Regions from separate parts of the Homo sapiens genome. Here all the other regions are linked to region 3. The links are contacts of gene promoters, found by promoter capture Hi-C in human tissues and cell types (Jung and others, 2019). All regions are on one chromosome and are shown on one strand. The core of a region is centred on a gene start or on the middle of the fragment in contact, and the rest is flanking DNA. Distances in the headings are between cores, read along the strand shown.

Region 1 (4,170 bases), core at 1,392-3,891, 1.1 Mb after region 3:
TATTTTGCAAATGAGTACAAAATAGGTGGAAGAGTTTAAGTGACAAACACAAATTGGAAAAATTAGCTAACACAGAATAGCACCGTAATCAGAAAGGTGCCCAGGTTCCTAGGTCCCTATAGCTTTCGTTACAGCACTCCGCTTCTGTGGCTGTGTCAACTATGCACATTAATCAAACAAAATGTATAATTAAAATCCATTTACAAATTAGAGAGAACCTATACTATTGCAAACCCTTTTGGTTGTTGTTGCTGTTACTACTGCTGTCAATTACTTCCAAGATGACACGGCAGAGAACATACTGTTACACGAATATTCCTTGTGCTACACTTTCTGGCCCCTCTATAGTCTAATGGGGCTACGTGACTCATTCTAGCCAATAAAGTATGTGTGAAAGTGAAACGTGTCCCTTCTGGGCAGAGACATTCAAGAGCTGGTGTGACGATTCCATGCTTCTGTTCCCTGACCCCAGAACTACTATTGGGCTGGCACTGCCACAGTCTGGAAGGGCCCTGGCTGCTTATGCTGAGTTACCACATGGAGGGGTCAACCACTGCAGACTCGGAGCATTTGCAAGAACAAGACATAACCTCGTTGTGCTAAGTGATTGAGGTTTTGAGATGTTTTTTCTGTTGCAGCAGCTCATGCTTAATTACCCTAACACAGCAAACTAAATTACACACATAGGGCTGTGCATCTTGAAGTTGAGTACTGTAACAAATGTAATTAATATGATATAAATTACTAAACGTAAACCCACTTAAAATATTTTTCTATTTTTGTTTTAAAATGATATGCTAAATTATACATTAAATTTAAGACGTATCAGGTATAAAACCTGATTAAAGTCCTATAAAATTATCAATGTCTAAAACACACAGTCAAAATCAAATGCTGGGCTGGGCACAGTGACTCACACCTATAATCCCAGCACTTTGGGAGGCCAAGGCAGGCAGATCACTTGAAGCCAGGAGTTCAAGACCAGCCTGGCCAACATGGCAAAACCCCCTCTCTACTAAAAATACAAAAATTAGTTGGGCGTGCTGGTGCACATCTATAATCCCAACTACTTGGGAAGCTGAGGCACAAGAAATGCTTGAACCCAGGAGATGGAGGTTGTAGTGAGCTGAGATCACATCACTGCACTCCAGCCTGGGTGACAGAGGGAGACTCTGTCTCAAAAAATAAAAATAAAAATAAAAATAAAAAAACGCTGAATCAGGTTTCAAGCACTACTTTTTCTAAAATGGCAATATCCCCATGAAATGACTATATCATAGTCATTGTCTGAGTCTAGGACCTAGAGTTTTCGTTCCACATGGTAATCATACACCATGAGAAATTCCTATTGGCAAGAGTTTCATGGAACTTCAATTAAGCTTCATTTGTTATCTCTGAGTAGCAGTGCGGTGTCACATTATTTCCAGAATTACAAAAAAGTTTTTATTATTACTGTCAGATGTACCTCTTTCAATTTTACTATTTGCTATTATTTCCCTATGGCCACATAGATTACAATACGTCCATCTTTAATTAAAAGCCACAGATGGAGTTTCGCTTGAAGGCTTGTCCGTGTAATCCCAGTTACTCAGGAGGCTGAACCAGGAGGACCACTTGAGACCAGGAATTCAAGACCAGTCTGGGCAACAGTAAGACCCCATCTCTTGAAAAAAAAAACAAAAAACAAAAAACATTTAGCCAGGCATGGCATGCACCTGTACTCCCAGCTTCTTGGGAGGCTGAGACAAGATGATCACTTGAGCCCAGGAGGTTGAGGCTGCAGTTGAGCCATGTTCATGCCACTGCACTCCAGCCTAGGCAACACAGTGAGACTCCATCTCTTAAAAAAAAAAAAAGCCACAGATGTCATTTTGGGGGAAGATTAAGAATGTACAATTTGAATCTCATGACTGTACCCATAGGGATGTCAAGGGATGTCAGTATAAGACTGTAGTGGAACATTTGGAAAGAGAGTTGTCAATTTCAGAGAAAATTCTCTTCACCAGGTACAGCAGCTCACAGCAATAGCTAATTTACAAACTGAAACCATGATTACTTTGTGTTTCAACAAAAATAGTTCAGCCAATTGTGGGGTGAATTCCCTAAGGCCAGAATGTCCCAACTTTAAATTCATACTGAAAAACTTTTAGACATTTAGAACAGATTTTCATGAATGTTTAGACTTTTAAATGCAGCCAAGCCTCTCTAAATAATAAATGCAATTAGGCAAGTCCCAATTACTATTACAGAATGACTATGCAAGACAAGGCTACCCACATTTCTGAGACGATCAAGAATTTTGTCTTTTTAATGTTCCTCTAAAGTAAATTTCCTTCCATTAGAAATGTGTACTTGGAGAGAATTTCATTATAATTCACAAAACTTGCTTTAACTAGGTGGCTGGCAGATTACTTATGCTTCATTTAAGGGTTTGGCTGCATATTTGTGAATCTGTAATACACACAATATTTCTTTAAACTACAACACATCTGGCACATTCCTAGATTCACTTTATCATATATATATATATATATATGTCCAGATTTTTATGTTAATTTTCTATTTTTTCCCTACTTTACTGCATTGTATACTCTCCTTAAGTATCCTCAAACCTCCTGTATACCATGGGAGAACACAAATCCCCAATGAAGAGATACAACAGTGCATTTGGCTGGATCAATAGTTGTTAAATTTTTTTTTTTTAGATAACCTAAAGATACCTCATAAAGTCATTTTTTCTTGAACTCTTGTGATCTGTAATGGTACAGAAAGCCTTCCCCACCCTGGGAACCTGGCAGGGCCCTGACTAGGGCCTACGTGCCCACTTAGACAGCAATAAACTCTGAGAACTCAGCATTCATTTTCTGTGACTGAGGGCTGCTGAATGAGATCAGGAAACTAAACGCTTAATAAACAGTAGTTACTATGACGTTACCATTCTTATCACCCTGGACAACCTGCTGCCTCCCTGCACACACAGAAGAGGCTCAGGAACAGAAGGCCACAAGGCAATGCCAGGAGTAGAAAAAGGTAGAGGCAGCAGCCAGAACGAAAAGACACAGGCGCCCTGGATGGCATTTGAGACTCGAACACAAAGAGTGCAAACTTCTCTATTTTCCCTGATTGCCTCCAAATCATTCTAGACCTTCGGCTAAATATCACTTCTTCAGGTGGCCTCCCATGGCCTTCTGAATTAGGATAACTTCCCCTGTCAGTACTTTCTGGTATGGTCCTTTTTGTAATATTCAGGTATTCACTCAAAAACATTGACTGAGTCCCTCCTACATGTCAGGCACTGCTCAAGTTAATGTGGATACAACACAAACACGGCTCAGCTCCTTTCCCCAGAGTTCCAGTCTCAGGTAATAACCTCGCTGTTCACAAGGTTCCTGACTATCTGAACTCCATTCCCTCCCTCACCTGTCACATGAGATGAGTCACTAGGACTTGCTGATTTTGACCTCTGGATTCCTTCGTGAACCTAGTTTCTCTCCATCCCAACCACCGCCACCTCATAGTGTCCACCCTCTCCCCTAGGAAATATTCCCATAGCCTCCATCAGGTTTTCCAGCCTGCCATCCACCCCTCTCCAACCCAACCCACGCATCTGCAATTGGAGTGTCTAGGATGAAAATCAGACAAGGACACTTTCTTGCGTCAAACCTATCCAGGGTCCCCAGTGTGTCTGATGACTGGACATCAGTCTACATTTTTCCCTCACTCCCATATTCTCCCATGTGAGACCTGTGCTTCTGCCATAATGAACTATTTGCAGTCCCCAACCTATGTTCTCCTTTTTTTATGCCTACTAATGACACCTAGCACACACAGTTCCTGTCACCTACTTTGTGCTTAATACATATTTTTTGCTGAAAAGAATGAATGCATGAAAGTGTTTGTGTTTTTACATTTACTAGGCCTTCTGCTTGAATTGTCCTTTGTCACCAAATTATCAATGTCTTTATCACATTTGAATCTCGGGTGCCTGGCACAGCATCTGTAACCTAGGAAATGCTGAGTAATGTTTTCAGACTAAATGGATGGACAAATAATTGACGGGCAAACCATCTACCTTAGCTTAGGACACAAAGTGGAATACAAGTAGGTAGAAAGCAATGATTTCTCCTTCATAAAGACACCCAAAAGCCTTTGCTAATTTCCTTCAGGAAC
Region 2 (3,984 bases), core at 184-2,683, 1.3 Mb after region 3:
TGTAATCACCAGAAGGCGACTGGTGATCTCTGAAAAGTAGTTCCAGTGATAAATAACATATAAAACATAAGCACTATTTATGATCTATATGCAGAAATCTCAAATAAAATGTTAACAAACAGAACCCAGAAGCCATGGAAGAACACTGCACGACAGCCAGAGCAGGTGGTGGATTGCAGGCACACACCCCATAATTCAAGATAGGAAATCTATTTCTCTAACTTGTCCTACGATCGAAAGAGAAACAGCATACCATCAGCTCCCCAGACATTGGACCAAAGTTAAAATTCCCTCTTAAGACAAATAAACTTTTAATAAAATAGGAAGACTGTTGCCTTAATATATCCACCAAAACTCCAGAATAGTGATTTATGAGAAACCATCACCAGCACTCCATATAAGTCCAACCTCTGAATAGCAAAATGAGAATGAGCTAATGACAGAACGATCCCCCGAAATGAATTACAAATGCCTCTGAAAGCTGTAACAAGGTGCTCAATAGCATTCATGAGAGAAATGCAAATTGAAATGACAATTAGATAGTATTTTTAATGTGCAGTTTGGGAAAGATCAAATTGTTTGATAACACTATCAGTAAGGGTCTAAGAAAGAGGCATTGCTGGTAAAAACCTTTGTAGAAGATAATTTGACAATATCTATCAACATTTTAAATGCATATATCCTTTATTTCGGCAAGCAATAATTTAAACCTACATATATACCTGTTTGTATGTGTGCAAAATGATGCCTGAATGAGGATATTATATTCACTAAACAATTTGTAAAAGCTGAAGACAGGAAACAAATTTTTATTGATTGGGGACTGGCTAAGTAAATTAAGAATAAGGCACCTCTACATGTATTGATACATTTGATACAGGGTATCTGTGAGATATACTGTTAAAGGATAAAAACAAGAATAGTGTGAATGGTACCTGACACCTTTTAGAAATGCGATATAAATGTAGTTTATGCATATACATGCATATATAAGAAAATGTCTAAGACCAGGTAAGAGCTGAAGGACAGAGACAGGAGAGAAGCTGATTTTTCATCCTGTATGTATTTATGCCTTCTGATTTTTTTTTTTTTTTTTTGAAACAAAGTCTCGCTCTGTTGCCCAGGCTGGAGTGCAGTGGCGCAATCTCAGCTTACTGCAGCTTCCACCTCCTGGGTTCAAGCAATTCTCCTGCCTCAGCCTCCCGAGTAGCCAGGACTACAGATGCCCACCAAGACGCCTGGCTAATTTGTTTTTTTTTTTTTTTTTTTTTGAGACAGGAGTTTCACTTTTGTTGCACAGGCTGGAGTGAAATGGCACAATCTCAGCTCACTGCAACATCCACCTCCCAGGTTCAAGTGATTCTCCTATCTCAGCCTCCTGAGTAGCTGGGATTACAGGCGCATGCCAACATGCCCAGCTAATTTTTGTATTTTTAGTAGAGATGGGGTTTCTTCATATTGGTCAGGCTGGTCTCAAACTTCTGACCTTAGGTGATCTGCCTGTCTCAGCCTCCCAAAATGCTGGGATTACAGGTGTGGGCCACCATATCCTGCATTTTTTTTGAATTTTTAGTCGAGACAGGGTTTCACCATGTCAGCCAGTCTGGTCTTGAACTCCTGACCTCAAATGATCCACCTGCCTCAGCCTCCCAAACTGCTGGGATTACAGGTGTAAGCCACCGTGCCTGGCCCTTGAATGTTATACTATATGCATTGCAAGCCACTAGGCTTTATGGCCACTCTCTCCTTTATCCCTGCTGTTCAGCCAGCCTCTGTCTGGACAATATCTCTGCCATTTGGCCCTCCTTTCCACCCTCATCACAATGGACATAATGTAGAGACCCTCAGCATCTTCCTCCTGGAGAATTAAAACAGCCTTTAACCACTTTCCCTTTTAAATAACTTATCTTCTCTGATTGACGCTAGGCACCATTCCTGGACCCACCTTTCTAAAGCACCAGTTTATTAAGTTTCACAAAATCAGGGTTCCACTTAGCCTATCAAAGTGCTCCACACGGGCCCAAGCCCCTTTCTCTTCCAGGGACTAAATCGCACACTCCAGCTGATCAAAACTCGAACAGCTGCTCTTTTTTTCCCTACCACTAACCCTCAACTCCGGTGGCCTCCTTTATCAGGAATGCCCATGTCATGATTGTCTCCCTTCCCCATATGCACCGGCTAAAATGGCTCGTGGCCTTCAGCACCTACTGAAACCACCACCAACCTCAGGCGCTTCCCCTGGTGTCCGCCTGGGATGTGAATGCTCCCTCCCCTAAGCGCCATGGACCATGTGTTTCTTTTGCAACCCCTGAAATAGGCTGCCTCTCATGCCTGCTTGCTGCTGCTTCCTTCTAAGCAGCCACGGCAATGATAGGCTGCATGCCCTGCTCTGTTCCTCAGTCTCCTGAGCAGTGAGACTCCCTAGCAATACAGAGCAAGTCCTCTGGCAAGGTAACACTTTCCTTGAAATTCCAAAAATTCCTATTGCTCATTAAATGACTAAAAAGCCATCTGAATCCCTACATTTCAATGTACTTATTTTGCATGGTTGCACAGCATTCACAATGGCATTATACTGACAAGCTAGGAAGTATTAAAAATATTACATAACAGTTACTGATTCTTTTTGCCTTCTCAGTGCAGACTGGTAAAGTTTGGAGTATCAAGCACATACTCAAGACAGTCCATTTTACCACCTGTCACTTAAAAGTCATTTTCTAGAATTATTGTTTTCTTAAATGAGAGAAATGATCTGACTCCGGGTGAACACATAAGGTTAGTGATGGCTAGGAGCACTGACTAAATTGAATGGTTTCAGGTCCTCGAGAAGTGTCTACCATTTCCCAATACAAGGCAATTATGCATTTAGTTAGGATACAGTCACGTTAAAGGAGGTGATCCCTGTAGACACACAGAGAGATATCATTACTATATATTGGTTCGGACAATCACTGTGGACAACAATTTTAAAATATCATCAAATTCACAGAATAGTGGTTACCGGGGGCAGGGGGGGTGGGAGAATGGGGAGCTGCTGTTTAAGGAGTACAGAGTTTCAGTGTGGGATGATGAAGTTCTGAAAAATGGATGATGGTGGTGTTTTCCTCAAGCATGTGAATGTACTTAATGCCACTGAACTGCACACTTAAAAATGGCTAAAATGGTAAATTTCATGTTATATATATTTTACCACAATTTTAAAAATCCACCATGAAACATGACTTTTAAGCATTTTTTTGACACAGTAAAAACAAAACAACTACAGGTTCTTTTCATTTCTAATTTAAAGACGGAAATAAGACAAAATAAGTGAAAGAACAGCAGTTTATTTTAAACCTGATGCCTCTAATACATGAATTATTAAAGTTTATGCTATTAAATCTTTTTAAGTCTTACCTTCACTTGTAAAGTATTTATATATTATTAAGGCTTAATCTGCTAATTCTTCTTTCTTAAATCCCATGCTTTGTTTAAGAAGCTTTTAGACTCTATGACCAATACATGCTATGTAGTCATAAGACAACAGTTGCATAAATACTTGCTGACAACGGTTAGCCCTACAAAGGAAATTGTGGAAGACTCGAGTACAAAGTAAACCCAATCTTTACTCCCCAAAGTGTCATCCCTCAAACTAAAGTCCAGGATAGCTCCAGCCAATCTGACAGAATACAATTAAAATAATATAAATCAAAAATTAAAAATGGAAGGAAAATACAATGCCAATAGTAAATCATAAAATGTCACTAAAAACATAAGATCTTCTACCCCTACATACTTCTTAACTAAACCTTAAAATATACCTACAATATATTGAAAAATGAATTATACACAGTGTATAATTTACTGTAAACCTACATACTTTCTGAGGCTGCGAAGGCCTAACAACTCAAGTAGGAATCATTAGAAACCTAAAAATAGGACAGGAGACGTTATTTTTTGATTAAAAAAAAAAAGAATGGCTGGGGAAGGCCTATCTGAGGAAGT
Region 3 (4,025 bases), core at 202-2,701:
GAATGTGACTGTATGTGGAGATAGGGTCTTTTTTTTTTTTTTTTTTTTTTTTAAGACAGAGTTTCGCTCCTCTTGCCCAGGCTGGAGTACAATGGCACGATCTTGGCTCACTGCAACCTCCACCTCCTGGGTTCAAGCAATTCTGCCTCAGCCTCCCAAGTAGCTGGGATTACAGGCGCGTGCCACCATGCCCAGCTAATTTTATATTTTTAGTAGAAACAGGGTTTTTCCATGTTGGTCAGGCTGGTCTTGAATGCTTGACCTCAAGTGGTTCACCCTCCTCAGCCTCCCAAAGTGCTGGGATTACAGGTGTGAGCCATCATGCCCTGCTGGAGATAGGGTCTTTAAAGAGCTGATTAAGCTAAAGTGAGGCCATGGAGGTGGGCCCTAATCTGATATGATTGTGTACTTATAAGAAGAGGAGATGAGGACACAGATGTACACAGAGGGAAGAGCACATGAGGAGACAGGGAGAAGATGCCACCTAGAAGCAAAGAAGAGAGGTCTCAGGAGAAACCAGCCCAGCTTCCAGAGCTGTGAGGAAATAAATCTGTTATTTAAGTCCCCAGCCTGTGGTGGTTTGTTATGGCAGCCCTAGCTGACTAAGACACAGCCCGATTGGTTGGTTCTGACACTTCTTACCACAGTTCACTGCATTCTCTTCACTGAATTGCAATTATCTGTTGGCGTATTGGGTTGGCCCGCTGGGGTGACAGGCCTGGCATATGCACTTTTATTATCTCTAGCACTGAGAAACCCTGGCATTGATAGCTGCATGCGAAGTGCTTGCTGAATTCATGAGAGCTACTGCTGCAGTGAAAGCTCTGAAAGTGTCCAGAGAGGGACAGGAATCTTCTCTTTGGGCAGAAGTGATCTTTTCACTTCACTTGCAAAGTACATCAGATGGAAAGGTAGCCCAGGTGTACGGTGTTGAGGAAGGGCCTACTGGAAGCTGCTTTTCCTAATTTTCAGCTGGTGAGGTTTGATGATTTGGTAGACTCACTGATCATTTTGTTCTTTTTTGGGTTCTGTGGTGTTAGTAAATGGCTATATTTAGATTCAATTTCTCTTTCTTGTACTCTTTGTTGTTCTGCCATTCTCTTCCGCTCCCAGTCCTGGCCCCACCGCTCCTTCTTCCAAAAGCTCCCAGTGGCCCTCCCAGACCTGCTGCAGGTGGAGAAAGTGTTCAGCTGCTGGTCCCCTCTCCCCTCCCACCCCAACTCCAACTGAGCACTAGCGGCTCACATCTGTGGGCCTTGCTTTCCCCATAAACACACATGGGTGTACTGCAAGGGCTTACCGCAACTCTGGTAGAGCACTTCCAAGCCGCTGTCGCTACAGACCACGTGTGTGGGCCAGGCTTTCCCACCGCCGCCTCCACTGCAGCTGGGAAAAATCAGAGTCCAGAGGAAGAGAGTGGCTGTGAAACCCTTCATGGTGGGGGCCTGTATGGGACACACAGAAAAATAACCGGCCAATAAAAAGCCTGTAAAATTTCTTCCTCTCCCCTCACCAAGGCAGTTGGATGTTCAGTTTCACTTCTCAAATTTTAGACTCGCTGGGAACCACAGTCAGAAGTAAAAGGCTGAGAGCAGAGGCATTTGAATACTGTTCCCCCAGGACCTTGAATCTACAGGTGTGGCTGGTCTGGTCTGGGGTAGGATGCGTGCTGACTTTCTGCTTTCACAGGGAGAGGGTCAGTAGTGATGCGTGAACTTACCTCTTGGGGGCCCCTCAGAACAGCCTCCACCCCCAGGTGAGGCTGTAAACTTGGGAAAGACAAAGCGCAGGCCACCATCTGTTTCCCATCTCCAGCCCCCGAGTCTCTGCAGGCTCTTGATGCAGGCTGTGTATGGACCCAGGGACCTGGCTGCAGCCAGCAGGCAGCAGTTGATAGCACGAGGGCTACAGAATGACATTTGGAATCTGGAATGAGGCTTTGGCCCTATTGTCACTTTCCTCTCCTCTGGCTTTGGCTCTGCTCTTAGGTTTGGGATTTTAGCAGTGAATTGTCCAGCTGCAGAACAGACCTTGTTTTGGGAGCTGCAGATGTGGTCTCTGGAGATGAGGCAGAGGCAATAGCCCTGAGAAGTGAGCCGTGTTCTATTTCTGGGTTTGGCTTGGTAGAAAAAGTAGGAAGGGTGGGGAGGTGGGGCCACCCTTAAGGAGGCTGGTTTGCTGGTTTTGGTGTTAGTGGGATCATTGACATCACATCTCACTTTCTCTTCAAAGCCAAGATTCTGTCTTCCTTCTTCCATGTATCTCTATTCTGCTGCAGGACAGCAAGGTTTCTCAGTCTTGATTCCTCAACCCCGCCCCAGCTTCACCTTAATGTAAGAGGACCAGAGTCAGTGCCAAGGTCAGCAGATTTCAGGAGCAATAGAAAACACTATTTTCCCTGGGAGGAACAGCATTTTTCTGAATGCACTAGGTAAATTTACTATTTCTGCTGATGGCTAAGCAAAAATTAGAGTTAGCTCAAAACTTTTTTTGAAATAGGTGGAACATAATTACCAATAAATTAATTGGTAAATAATTTGGATTTCTTGATAGACATCAGAGAGTGGTCATTTGGAGAAGGAACAGTTGTGGATTGATTATTTTTAGGTACCTCTGCAAATAAGTTCAGTGATGATGGCTTTCAACAGCAGTTCTCAAAGTGCGGCCTGGGAAGATGACAGCCTCAGCTTCCACTGGGGGCTTGTTAGAGATGCAAATTCTGGGCTACTCAAGACCTATTAAATCAGAAACTCTGGGGGGCGGGACTCACCATTCTGGATTTTCACAAGCCCTCCAGGTGTGCCTGATGCAGTCTCAAGTTTGAGAACTGCTGGCTTTTACAGAACATAAAGCGAAGGTTGAGCCCCAAGGGAGTGGTGGGAAGTTGCTCTAAGAAGAGACAAGGTGGCCCCTCTGGCCTGTGTGAGCGGAAGGCAGCTGCGCTGTGAGCAAGATCTCGGGAGATGAGAGTCTGAAGCTTATGGTGAGAGCAGCGGCCCTGGTGGAAGCGTGGTAGCCCCTAGAAGGTCCAGGATGGAACACAGAAGCTTTCCCTTGGGATATGTGAGTGCTCCAGCAGTTGTAAAGAGAGCTCTGAACATATGTGAGTGAGGAGAGCAATTGAGGGTGAGAACTTCCTTCCCTGCAAAGTGCGTCATGATTGACACTGGAGGAGGAGTCCAGGAGTGCAGGGCAGGGAGCAGAAAACCTAGCAGAGAGCTGTGGGCAGCTGTGGCAGGGAAATGGTCTTAGTATGTTCTGGCTGCCATAACAAATACCTTAGACTGGGTGGCTTAAATGACAAGCATTTATTTCTCACCATTTTGGAGGGTGGAGGTCCAAAGTTGGAGATTAAGGTGCTAGAAGATTCAGTGTCTGGTGAGGGGCCTCTGGTTCACAAATGGTGCCTTCTGGCTGTGCCCTCACATGGTGGAAGGGGCGAAGGGTTTCTCTTAGGCCTCTTTTATAAAGGCACTAATCCCATGTATGAGAGCTCCATTCTTATGACCTAATCACCTCCCAAAGGCCTTTCCTCCTAATACCATCACCTTGAGGCTTAGGATTTCAACATATGAGTTTGGGCAGGGCCACAAACATTGGCTTTATTGCAGAAACAGTGTCATCTGAAGACAGGGGTACAGATTCTTGAGAATCAAAAGACCTGGAAATGAAAGGAATCATAATTCAGGGATCGCACTAGCATTTAGAAATATTCCAAATGGACCAATCAGGAACCTTGTGATCATGGTGACCCTAGGACATTGGTCTTCAGGCTAGAGTGGTCTTCAGGGCATCAGCGTCAGCTGGGGGGCTTGTTAACATGCAGATTGCTGGACCCCACCCCAGAGTTTCTGCTCCTGTGTGTCTGGTGAGGCCTGAGAACCTGTGTTTCTAACATGTTCCCAGGTGATGCCAGTGTTGTTGATCTGGGGCCACATTCTGAGGACCTCTGGTTTAGCTTACAGAATTTGATCATTTGCAGAATGTACAATTAAAAAAAATCTTCTTAATAAAATGTTTTGTTT

The links. The method cuts DNA at HindIII sites, captures the fragments that hold promoters and counts their contacts. A contact is called where the count stands out against the background at its distance.
Region 1: a contact is called between a fragment that was not itself captured here and the fragment with the promoter of LY86 in region 3, in 1 of the 25 tissues and cell types used here (heart left ventricle).
Region 2: a fragment that was not itself captured here is called in contact with the fragment with the promoter of LY86 in region 3 in 1 of the 25 tissues and cell types used here (spleen).

Annotation. Positions count from the first base shown.
Region 1 is chr6:5,512,456-5,516,625 of GRCh38, reverse strand. All of the region lies in intron 4 of FARS2 (phenylalanyl-tRNA synthetase 2, mitochondrial), which reads right to left. Among named protein-coding and RNA genes, the nearest start is that of FARS2-AS1, 56 kb to the right of the region's middle. The HindIII fragment of the contact is 6,166 bases long and covers 1-4,170 here.
Region 2 is chr6:5,280,662-5,284,645 of GRCh38, reverse strand. The region is part of intron 1 of FARS2 (phenylalanyl-tRNA synthetase 2, mitochondrial); the gene reads right to left. Among named protein-coding and RNA genes, the nearest start is that of FARS2, 21 kb to the right of the region's middle. The HindIII fragment of the contact is 8,093 bases long and covers 1-3,984 here.
Region 3 is chr6:6,586,146-6,590,170 of GRCh38, reverse strand. LY86 (lymphocyte antigen 86) reads right to left here and starts at 1,451. Exons shown (of 5, transcript NM_004271.4): 1 at 1,301-1,451. The coding sequence starts at 1,436. The region is part of intron 1 of LY86-AS1 (LY86 antisense RNA 1); the gene reads left to right. RefSeq lists enhancers at 2,925-3,054, 3,065-3,154. The HindIII fragment of the contact is 16,234 bases long and covers 1-4,025 here.